Linked DNA regions of Homo sapiens: region 2 is linked to region 1. Evidence: promoter capture Hi-C in human tissues and cell types (Jung and others, 2019). All regions are on one chromosome and are shown on one strand. Each heading gives the region's core, a stretch centred on a gene start or on the middle of the fragment in contact. The rest is flanking DNA. Distances are from core to core; before and after follow the strand shown. Region 1 holds the start of UGT1A3 (UDP glucuronosyltransferase family 1 member A3). Region 2 has its middle 6.8 kb from the start of UGT1A8.

Region 1 (6,406 bases), core at 1,304-3,803:
TATTAATTTTGGAATTTCATGGTACTTTTCCACTTTTAGGGAGATGCAGTGCAGCGTCTTCAAGTCTCCCACTCTTACGCCTGTCTCCTTCACTTGTAAGAGCCCTTGTGATTACACTGTCCTGCCCAGATACCCAGGACAATCTCCCCATCTTAAAACTCTTAATTTAATCATATCTGTGAAGTCTCTTCCACCTGTAACGGAACATATTCCCAGGTTTGAGGAAGTACAATGTAGATACTTTTGTGGGGCTGTGATTCTGCCTACCACAGACACTAAGCTTAAAGTGAAACCCACATCTTATTCAAGGCTTGGAGGTTTTCCTCTATTCGACCATTTAAATTTAATTTTTGTTCCTTTTCTCCATAGTCTTCTATTCTCCAGGCTTCAGAGCTATCAGCTTACCATTCAATTATCTCCTTTTTTCCTGATCTTCCTTTTTTCATTTTTAAAAAACAATACCTTTCAAAGAGCAAAAGTTTTAGATTTTGATGAGGTTCTTTCTAGCAAAGTTTTATCATTTGTTGTTTTTGTACCCTAAGGAATCTTTACCCCAAGATGTGAAGATTAGTTTCTGTGTTCTCTTACAAACATTAAAGAATTCCAGTTTGTGTGTTTAGGTCTGTGAGATTGGCAGAGGGGAACAAGACCACACAGGTCAGTCTTTCAGGATGCTTTTTTCTGTCTCTGGACTTTGCTGGGGTGACCTCACTGACACCCATGGCTTCCACATATGCGGATGGCTCCAAGTCTATCTGTGCAGCCCAGACCCCTCCTCATCTCCAGACCCTGGAAGCTGATGACTTGGGCAGCTCCTTCTGTTTCCCAGGCACCAGGAGCTCCTCCCTCCCCATAGTTCTGCTATCCTTAGGGCCCCTAGGTCTCTGGAGTACCACCGTCTTCCAAGATACATGGGCCTCCTCAGGGTCTGGGAGTCCCAGACATGTGACAAGAAATCAGATGACTTCACTGTCTAAATAAAACACTACTACTTGGAGGTAGAACATGGGAGCCCATGAATGTGGGAAGAGCACACTACCAGGCGTGTTCCACCCGTCACCTGGGCTCATCATGAGGGTGCTTAGGAAGCATATAGTTTTAAGGGGGTTGGAGGAATAGTTCAGAGGCTGAGAGGTTGCACCCACAGCTGAGAATCCCTTTCTAGTGCTCTATGTCCTTACAAATTCCCAGGAATCATCCTCTACTGGACAGTTCCCAAAGCCCTTGCAGACCTTCCTTTTCTGTGCCATCCTGCGTGTGCTGCCCTTGAGCTGGGTGTCCCCCAGTAGACGCTTCCATTCACTGCCTGTCCCATGGGTTCTGTCCAAAGGTGGAATCTGTTATCAATGTGGAGTAATTTCCTCCCTAAGGGAAGCCTCAGCCTCACCAGCAATGGCAGACACGGCCAGGCAAGAAGACACAGGGGCAGTGAGATAGAAAGTGCACACCCCAGACAGCCTGCCCACATCATCCTGAGGTGACCAGGACAAGGTGGCATCAGCAATCTTGTGAGCACAGCACATGTGGGAGTGACTTTCTGGAGTAGGATAAGCCTCATTGGGCTTGAGGCCCTTGTGAGTGCTCAGGGTCTCTCCTTTAGAAAGGCACATATTTAATTCTCCATCTTGAAATTTGGACTAGGGCCCCCACAAATTGTGCAGCCCATTCTGTTCTGGAGGAACCATTCTTATCAGAACTTGGTGCTGGATTGACTTGGAGAAGAGCCTGACCATAATCTTCAGGATGAAATAAAGGCCTGGATGACTGAAATAAAGACTGGAGCCTTCGGCATTCAGAAGAGGAATTCAGACTGTGCAAGATCTGAGGCCAGGCTCCAGCTCCCCCAGTCCCTTGGTGAGCAGGAGCTCCCTGAACCCACCATGGGTCTTTGCTAGGGTTGTCTTGCCCATGTGTGCTTTAGATAGCAGCACCTCTTCTTCCATGGTGTATATGGAGAATCCTCAACAAAGTCTTCCCAAGAATCTGATCATCACATCTTGAGCTCAGCCTCCCTGCAGCTTTTTCTATATTGACAGCCACTTCAGAGAGAGTCCTCTCTGATCCTTACAAGAAATATCCTGGTGCGAAAAACGACCAAAACCACATAGCCAGCCTCCACGCTGTTCAGAGAAAGCTGGCTTAGCAATGTTGTATGGTTTTTGGATGCGCTGCGTTACTCATACATGAGAAGAAAGTTTCAAGGGTTAGCAAATAGGGTCACATCCAGCAGAGAGCATATGACTGGGGGCTAGGGCAATGGTGACTCCTCAGACCTCAGCTGCTGCCTGATAAACATGGTTAACAGAGAAGTAGGAGACAGTGACATGAAATGGGTGTTCACAGCCTTGTGTTGGGAATTGGATGAGAAACAAGAGCTTGAACTTGGATGTTCCCCAGAGTGAGCACAGGGTCAGACGTGTTTTTCAAGATAGTCATGATCGGTCTTTTCCAGGGTGGGGCCCACAGTGAAAAACAGTGATAGATTAATGGTTAATAATTAACTAGAGGAGGGCACTCTGTCTTCCAATTACACGTTGATTTGCTAAGTGGCTCAGTGACAAGGTAATTAAGATGAAGAAAGCAAATGTAGCAGGCACAGCGTGGGGTGGACAGTCAGCTGTCCGTGTCTTCTGCTGAGATGGCCACAGGACTCCAGGTTCCCCTGCCGTGGCTGGCCACAGGACTGCTGCTTCTCCTCAGTGTCCAGCCCTGGGCTGAGAGTGGAAAGGTGTTGGTGGTGCCCATTGATGGCAGCCACTGGCTCAGCATGCGGGAGGTCTTGCGGGAGCTCCATGCCAGAGGCCACCAGGCAGTGGTCCTCACCCCAGAGGTGAATATGCACATCAAAGAAGAGAACTTTTTCACCCTGACAACCTATGCCATTTCGTGGACCCAGGATGAATTTGATCGCCATGTGCTGGGCCACACTCAACTGTACTTTGAAACAGAACATTTTCTGAAGAAATTTTTCAGAAGTATGGCAATGTTGAACAATATGTCTTTGGTCTATCATAGGTCTTGTGTGGAGCTACTACATAATGAGGCCCTGATCAGGCACCTGAATGCTACTTCCTTTGATGTGGTTTTAACAGACCCCGTTAACCTCTGCGCGGCAGTGCTGGCTAAGTACCTGTCGATTCCTACTGTGTTTTTTTTGAGGAACATTCCATGTGATTTAGACTTTAAGGGCACACAGTGTCCAAACCCTTCCTCCTATATTCCTAGATTACTAACAACCAATTCAGACCACATGACATTCATGCAAAGGGTCAAGAACATGCTCTACCCTCTGGCCCTGTCCTACATTTGCCATGCTTTTTCTGCTCCTTATGCAAGCCTTGCCTCTGAGCTTTTTCAGAGAGAGGTGTCAGTGGTGGATATTCTCAGTCATGCATCTGTGTGGCTGTTCCGAGGGGACTTTGTGATGGACTACCCCAGGCCAATCATGCCCAACATGGTCTTCATTGGGGGCATCAACTGTGCCAACAGGAAGCCACTATCTCAGGTCTGTATTGGTGCCTTCATCCAATCAATGTTCCAGGCAAAACACTTTTTAAAAAAATGTATTTATTTAAAATTGCTTCCATATTTACTTATCTTTCCAAATATTTCATTTCTGCTTCTCCTTGTCATAATAGCCTTCAGTGAGATAAACTGTTAAGGGGTCTCTAGTAGCGTATTTCAGGTTTTAAATGGTCACTGAGAGGAAGAGGAAGTAGACACGAATGTTTGTAAAAGGATGGACAAGGACTGGTGTGACTCATAGAGACTGTTGGTTTGTAAAGGCACCATCTTCATGGTTGTGCATGTCCTTCAGCTTGGCAGGAACAGGGACACTACGTTTGGAACTGATCCATCCTGGATTTTTTGCTAGCATGATTTTCAGGGGAAAGATGATGCAACAGTAAATTACAATTGTTGACATGATAATTTTTAGTTGTCCCATCTTGCAAATGATAGACAGGTGACCACAGGAGACCTAGGCACTCACATGAAATAGAAGTGTCAGAGAGGTTGACTCAGTGGAAGTGGGGCAATGAAGTTGGGATGGATGTCTGTGATTAGAGAATGACACACGAAGTTCAGTTTCCAGACAGGGATCTGTGCTGTCAAGAGATTTTCTGGTCAGGATTTGGGGTCTGGTGCATGATGTGGGGACATCTCAGAGTTCGGAAGGCAAAGTAATGGTTGCATCTCAAATGATTCTTCTACTTGGAATGCTGAAATTATCAAGAAATGGCGGAAGGGGCTAGGGAGGAGATAAGACTGTGAATCTATAAGCCCAGTGAAGCTGGGGACAGTGATGAATGGACATGCGTCCAAGAAGGGAAGCATTTCTCAGGAGAGGCTCATCACATCACCAAACCCACCCTACTGCACTCCAGGTTTCTATAGTGGGATCTACTCCTTTACCAAAAATTTCAGAGGCAGCTTTCATTAATCCAGAATATTTGGGTTTCGTTGAAATGGTACTCTGGGACCTGAATATTGTTTCTTATTCCTTGCTGTGCCATGTACATCGTGAGAGAATCAGCCTTTTTATGTCATATTCACCGAATGTGTATGAACTTCCATGATTTAGATCCTTTTGTATTCTTATTTCTGTGCCTTTTTTATAAATGTAGGTATTATTGCAAAAGACTCTAAGCTTCATTTTTCTTTTTGATCAAACGACATGATTTTTTTATGCAATGTAATTATTCAATTATAAAATACGTGTTTATTTAGATTTGTAAAAATGTTGAAAAGTGGGATGGCATTTAAATAGTGACTGTTGCCCTTCCAGTTTTTCTTTCTTTTTTTTTTTTTTATTATACTTTAAGTTCTAGGGTACATGTGCACAAATTGCAGGTTTGATACATAGGTATACATGTGCCATGTTGGTTTCCTGCACCCACCAACTCGTCATTTACATTAGGTATTTTTCCTAATGCCATCCCTCCCCCAGTCCCCCACCCCACAACAGGCCCTGGCGTGTGATGTTCCCTGGCCTGTGTCCAGTGTTCTTGCTGTTCAGTTCCCACCTATGAGTGAGAACATGCGGTGTTTGGTTTTCTGTCCATGTGATAGTTTGCTGAGAATGATGGTTTACAGCTTTGTCCATCTCCCTGCAAAGGACATGAACTCATCCTTTTTTATGGCTGCATAGTATTCCATGGTGTATATGTGCCACATTTTCTTAATCCAGTCTATCATTGATGGACATTTGGATTGGTTCCAGGTCTTTGCTATTGTGAATAGTGCCACAATAAACATACGTGTGCATGTGTCCTTAGAGTAGTATCATTTATAATCGTTTGGGTATATACCCAGTAATGGTATGGCTGTGTCAAATGGTATTTCTAGTTCTAGGTCCTTGAGGAATCGCCACACTGTCTTCCACAATGGTTGAACTAATTTACACTCCCACCAATGGTGTAAAAGTGTTCCTATTTCTCCACATCCTCTCCAACATCTGTTGTTTCCTGACTTTTTAATGGTCACCATTCTAACTGGCGTGAGATGGTATCTCATTGTGGTTTTGATTTGCATTTCTCTGATGACCAGTGATGATGAGCATTTATTCATGTGTCTGTTGGCTGCATAAATGTCTTCTTTTGAGAAGTGTCTGTTCATATCCTTTGCCCACTTTTTGATGAGGTTGTTTGTTTGTTTTTTTTCTTGTAAATTTGTTTGAGTTCTTTGTAGATTCTGGATATTAGCCCTTTGTCAGATGGGTAGATTGCAAAAATTTTCTCCCATTCTGTAGGTTGCCTGTTCACTCTGATGGTAGTTTCTTTTGCTGTGGAGAAGCTCTTTAGTTTAATTAGATCCCATTTGTCTATTTTGGCTTTTGTTGCCATTGCTTTTGGTGTTTTAGTCATGAAGTCCTGGCCCATGCCTATGTCTTCTAGGCCATGCCTATGCCTAAATGATATTGCCTAGGTTTTCTTCTAGGATTTTTATGGTTTTAGGTCTAACATTTGAGTCTTTAATCCATCTGGAATTAATTTTTGTATAAGGCGTAAGGAAGGGATCCTGTTCCAGCTTTCTACATATGGCCAGTTTTCCCAGCACCATTTATTAAATAAGGAATCCTTTCCCCATTGCTTGTTTTTGTCAGGTTTGTCAAAGATCAAATGGTTGTAGATGTGTGGTGTTATTTCTGAGACCACTGTTCTGCTCCATTGGTCTATATATCTGTTTTGGTACCAGCACCCATGCTGTTTTGTTACTGTAGCCTTGTAGTACAGTTTGAAGTCAGGTAGCATGATGCCACCAGCTTTGTTTTTTTTTTTTTTTTGCTTAGGATTGTCTTGGCAATGCAGGCTCTTTTTTGATTCCATATGAACTTTAAAGTAGTTTTTTCCAATTTTGTGAAGTCATTGGTAGCTTGATGGGTTTGGCATTGAATCTATAAATTACC
Region 2 (5,919 bases), core at 3,062-5,561, 120 kb before region 1:
CCCAGGGAGGTGCACTGCATCCCTACCAGATAGGGATTTTTAAGATGTGAAAATATCATAATATACAGAAAATTAAACAATACACACAATACAGGAAGTATTTTATTCTTATGGATAAATACCCAACAGTGGAATAGCTGTGACTTATGGTAGGTGTATGGTTACCTTTTTGAGAATTTGCCAGACAACATTTACAAGCGGCCAGACCAAGGTGCCCTCCCACCACAAGCATATGAGAGGTCCAGCTGTTCACACTCACCAACACTGGATGTCTTAGTCCGTTTGCATTGCGATAAAGGAATACCTGAGGTTGGTTAATTTAGGAAGAATACATGTTTATTTGGCTTGTGGTTCATTCAGGGTACAAGAAGTATGACACCAGCACCCACATCTGGCGAGAGACTCAGGCTGCTGCCACTCATGGCAGAAGGTGAGGGTGGAGGGTGCTGATCACATGGCTAGAGAGAAGCAAGAGAAAAAGGAGGCAGGTGCCAGGCTCTTTTTAATAATCAGGTCTTGCTGAAATGAATAGATGGGAAGTTCACTCCTTACTGGGAGGGGGCACTAGGTCATTCATCAGGGATCCACCCAAACACCTCCCACTAAGCCCCACTTTCAACATTAGAGATCAAATTTCAACACTTGATTTGGGAGGGACAGATAACTCAGCTATATCATCTGATATGGTCAGTCTTTTTCATTGCAACTATTTTAATGGGATATGGATTAAACCTCAGTTTTAGTTTGATTTCCCTAATCATTAATTATGTTGAACATCCTTACATGTGCCTGTTTGCCGTCTGTGTACCTTCTTTGGTTACTGTCTTTTGAAATCTTTGCTCATGAAAAAACATAGATGTCTTTTTAAAAATAGACTTTTTATTTTACAATAAATTTAGATTTAAAGCAACGGTGCAAAAAACAGCACTGAGAATTCCCATATATCCTTTGCCAGTTTCCCCTATTGATAAATCTTGGATTACTATGCACATTTATCACAACTCATTAACCAACACTGACATATTATGATGAACTAAGGTCTATGTTTTCTTCAGATGTCATTAATTTTCACCTAATGTCCTTGTTCTTTTCTGGGATCCCATCCAGGATACCACATGACATTTGCTCATCACATTTGTTTGATCTCCTCTAGCCTGTGACAGTTTTTCAGACTTTCCTTGGTTTTTTTTTTTTTTTTTTTTTTTTTGAGATGGAGTCTTGCTCTGTCGCCCAGGCTGGAGTGCAGTGGCGCAGTCTCGGCTCACTGCAAGTTCCGCCTCCTGGCTTCATGCCATTCTCTGGCCCAGCCTCCCGAGTAGCTGGGACTACAGGCGCCCGCCACTGCGCCCGGCTAATTTTTTTTGTATTTTTAGTAGAGACGGGGTTTCACCATGGTCTCGATCTCCTGACCTTGTGATCCGCCGGCCTCGGCCTCCCAAAGTGCTGGGATTACAGGCGTGAGCAACCGCTTCCAGCCTTCCTTAGTTTTGATAGCAGTTTGTTTACTGGCACTGCTTCTTCTATGGCTTCTTTAGTACCTGGTACAGATTCAAAAGCACCAATCTCCTTCAAGTCATCTTCTGCTGATTCCTCTGGTGTGGTGTCTATTCGTTCTTGAATTTTTCACAGATCCATATCTTGAAAGACCATATCCCCCAACTTTTGTTGCTGAATTAGAGATGTTGGGTTTGCAGGCAGGTAGACCACTTTGAAACCTTCAGTGTTGAACTCGTGGGTTCTGGGCGGCTAGGGGCATTGTCCAAAATCAAAAGAACTTTCAAAGACAGTCTCTTACTGGCAAGACAAAGCAATGTAGAACCAATCCAGAAGAAGTGTTCTTGTCGAGGCTTTCTTGTACAACAAAAAAGCTGGTAGTGGGTATTGATCTTTTCCCTTCAAGGTGTGGAGGCTAGCAGGTTTATAGATGCGGGCAGTCCTATTTGTAAATCCAATGGCATTTACACAAAGCAGTAGAGTTAGTTTATCCCTTCTTGCCCTGAATCCTTGTGTTTGCCTCTCTTCCTTAGATTAGGGTTACGGTTAGTAGCCTGCAGAAACAATCTTGAATAGAAGCGGTAACAGCCCCTCAGTCCTTGGCATGATCTGAGGAGTGAGCATTCAGTCTTTCACTATTAAAGATGATGTTAGCTGTGGGTTCCTCCAAGATGCCCTTCATTAGTTTAAGATACTTCCCTTTTTTTCCCCTAGTTTGTTGAGAATTTTTTTTTTATCAGAAATGGATTTTGGATTTTTGTCAAACACTTTTTCCATACCTATTGAGGTAATTATATGCTTATACATTTTTAGTTTATTTATATGGTATGTTACTTTAAATGATTTATAAAAATTATTTATTTTATCATTAATTGTGGTGAAATACACATAGCATAAGATATATCATCTTCACCACTTTAGGTGCACAGTTCAGTATTGAGTACATTCACGTTGCTGTGCAACCAACACCACCATTCATCTCCAGAACTCTCTTCATCTTCCCAAACTGAAACTTTGGACCCCTTAAAAAATAATTCTCTGCTCCCCCCACCTCTCAGCCCTTGTCAACAAGCATTCAACTCTTTTATTCTATGAATTTGACTATTTTAGATACCTCATATAAGTAGAATCATAAAGCATTTGTCGTTTTGTGACTAGCTTAGTTCACTCTGCACAATGTCCTTAAAGTTCATTCATGTTAGCATATGTCAGAATTTTCTTCCTTTCTAAGGCTAATAATATTGCATTCCGTATATATACACCACATTTTTGCTTGGGTTGTTTCCACTTACAGGCTGGGCTCTTGTGAGTTATGTTGCTATGAACATAGTGGTACCATGTCAAACCAGCCTTGCATTCCTAGGATAAACCCCATTTGGTTATGGTGTATAATTTTTTTTATGTAGTAACTATTTTAAAATATTACAGAATTTGACTTAATAATATTTTGTTTAAAATTTTTGAATCTAAGGCCATGAAGGTCTGTAATTTTTTTATCTCATAATATCTTTGTCTGGTTTTGGTACTGTGATAATGCTGGTCCCATAAAATGTATTAGGAAATCCCCTAGGCTTCAGTTTTTGGGACTAGTTTGTGAATAATTGGTATTATTTGTTCCTTCAATGTTTGCTGGATTCATTAGTGATGTCATCTGAGCTTCACTTTGTTTCGTGTGGGAAGGTTTGAATTACAAATACAAATTCAATTCGACAGATACAGGTTAGTTCTATTGGGGTTATGTATTTATTCTTGTGAATAGTCTAGCAGTTTGTCTCTTTAACAAAATGTGCCCATTTCATCTAAGTTGTAGATTTTTTGGGCATAAATTTGTTCATGATATTCTCTTAGCATTTTAATATCTGTAGAATCTATGGTGATACCACCTCTCTCATTCCTGATATTGATAATTTATTTCTTCTCTCTTTTTTTTTTCAGATCAAGGTGGCTAGAGCTTTACCAAATTAATTGATCTCAACAAACCAGCTTTGGTTTCATTAATTTTCTCAACAAACCAGCTTTGGTTTAATTAATTTTGCCATTTTTTAAACGCATTTTCCATTTCATTGATTTCTATTCTGAAGTAAGCCTCCAGGGAAGGTAGATCACTGACCGTCATGTTTATTTTTCAAGGACAGTCATCTGCAAGTGCCCCAGTCACCAAAAGAAAAGATGACTAAGCAAATGTCTAGTACCAGTTAGGGTGTCCTGAAAGGAGCCATCTTGTACTCCTACAAGGATTATACCCCGAGGTTGTTTGTGGAATCTCTCACTAAATGTTCTTTAAGGTGTTGCCTGACACACACTGCTTAGCTCGTCCATGAAGGTATCAAGAAAACCTGCAGAATATAATTCTGTCCAGTGCAACAAATATTACGGTTGATTTTCTTTGTGCAAGGCTGTATTTGTCTGTTTGGATTGCTGTAAAGGATACCTGAGGCTGGGTAATTTATAAAGAAAAAAGGTTTAATTGGCTCACAGTTTTGCAGCCTTTATACGAAACACAGTGCTAGCATCTGCTTCTGGTGAGGCCTCAGGAAGCTTACAATCATGACAGAAGGTGATGGGGAGCTGGTGTGTCACATGGCAAGAGCAGGAGCAAGAGAGAGACAGGAGAGATGGCACATACTTTCTTTTTAATTTTAATTTTTATTTCTGGGGTACATGTGGAAGATGTTCAGGTTTGTTACATAGGTAAACATATGCCCTGGTGCCACATGCATTTTTTTTTTCCTGCTCTTACACTTTTCTTTCTTTTTAAATGCTTTAAGTTCTGGGATATATGTGCAGAACATTGTTACACAGGTATACACGTGCCATGGTGGTTTGCTACACCCATCAACCTGACATCTACATTAGGTGTTTCTCCTAAGCTATCCCTCCCCTAGACCCCCCCACCCCCCGACAGGCCCTGGTGTGCGATGTTCCCCTCCCTGTGTCCATGCGTTCTCATTGTTCAACTCCAACTTATGTGTGAGAGCATGCGGTGTTTGGTTTTGTGTTCCTGTGTTAGTTTGCTGAGAATTATGGTTTCCAGCTTCATCCATGTTTCTGCAAAGGACATGAACTCATCCTTTTTTATGGCTGCATAGTATTCCATGTTGTATATGTGCCACATTTTCTTTATCCAGTCTATCATTGATGGGCATTTGAGTTGGTTCCACATCCTTGCTGTTGCGAATAGTGTTGCAATAAACACACGTGTGCATGCGTCTTTATAGTAGAATAATTTATAAGCCCTTTGGTATATACCCAGTAATGGGATTGCTGTGTCAAATGATATTTCTGGTTCTAGATCCTTGAGGAATCGCCACACTGTGTTCCACAATGGTTGAACTAATTTACACTCCTACCAACAGTGTAAAAGTGTTCCTATTTCTCCACATCCTCTCCAGCATCTGTTCTTTCCTGAGTTTTAATGATCGCCATTCTAACTGGCATGAGATGGTATCTCATTGTGGATTTGATTTGCATTTCTCTAATGACCAGTGATGATGAGCTGTTTTTGATATGTTTGCTGGTCATATAAATGTCTTCTTTTGTGAAGTGTCTGTTCATATCCTTTGCGCACTTTTTGATGGGGTTGTTTTTTTCTTGTAAATTGGTTTAAGTTCCTTTTAGATTCTGGATATTAGCCCTTTGTCAGATGGATAGGTTGCAAAACTTTTCTCCAATTCTTTAAGTTGCCTGTTCCATCTGATGATAGTTTCTTTTGCTGTGCAGAAGCTCTTTGGTTTAATTAGATCCCATTTGTCAATTTTGGCTTTTGGTTGCCATTGCTTTTGGTGTTTTAGTTATGAAGTCTTTGCCCATGCCTATGTCCTGAATGGTTATTGCCTAGGTTTTCTTCTAGGGTTTTCATGGTTTTAGGTCTTATGTTTAAGGCTTTAATCCATCTTGAGTTAATTTTTGTATAAGGTGTAAGGAAGGGGTCCAGATTCAGTTTTCTACAAATGGCTAGCCAGTTTTCCCAACACCATTTATTAAATAGGGAATCGTTTCCCCATTTCTTGTTTTTGTCAGGTTTGTCAAAGGTCAGATGGTTGTAGATGTGTGGCATAATTTCTGAGGCCTCTGTTCTGTTCCATTGGTCTATATATCTGTTTGGGTACAAGTACCATGCTGTTTTGGTTACTGTAGTCTTGTAGTATAGTTTGAAGTCAAGTAGCGTGATGCCTCCAGCTTTGTTCTTTTTGCTTAGGATTGTCTTGGCTATACTGGCTCTTTTTTAGTTCCATATGAACTTTAAAGTAGTTTTTTTCCAATTCTGTGAAGAAATTCAATGGTAGCTTGATGGGGATAGCATTGAATGTATAAATTACCTTGGACAGTATGACCATTTTCACGATATTGATTCTTCCTATCCATGAGCGTGGAATGTTTTTCCATTTGTTTGTGTCCTCCCTTATTTACTTGAGCAGTGGTTTG

What was found. Contacts are between HindIII fragments. The study calls those that stand out against the background at their distance.
Region 2: a fragment that was not itself captured here is called in contact with the fragment with the promoter of UGT1A3 in region 1 in 2 of the 25 tissues and cell types used here (adrenal gland and hippocampus).

What each region holds. Positions count from the first base shown.
Region 1 is chr2:233,726,489-233,732,894 of GRCh38, forward strand. It overlaps UGT1A3 (UDP glucuronosyltransferase family 1 member A3), which reads left to right and starts at 2,554. Exons shown (of 5, transcript NM_019093.4): 1 at 2,554-3,505. The coding sequence starts at 2,639. All of the region lies in intron 1 of UGT1A8 (UDP glucuronosyltransferase family 1 member A8), which reads left to right. All of the region lies in intron 1 of UGT1A10 (UDP glucuronosyltransferase family 1 member A10), which reads left to right. All of the region lies in intron 1 of UGT1A9 (UDP glucuronosyltransferase family 1 member A9), which reads left to right. It also overlaps UGT1A7, UGT1A6, UGT1A5, UGT1A4 and UGT1A. The HindIII fragment of the contact is 9,204 bases long and covers 1-6,406 here.
Region 2 is chr2:233,607,824-233,613,742 of GRCh38, forward strand. It overlaps UGT1A. Among named protein-coding and RNA genes, the nearest start is that of UGT1A8, 6.8 kb to the right of the region's middle. The HindIII fragment of the contact is 6,432 bases long and covers 1,096-5,919 here.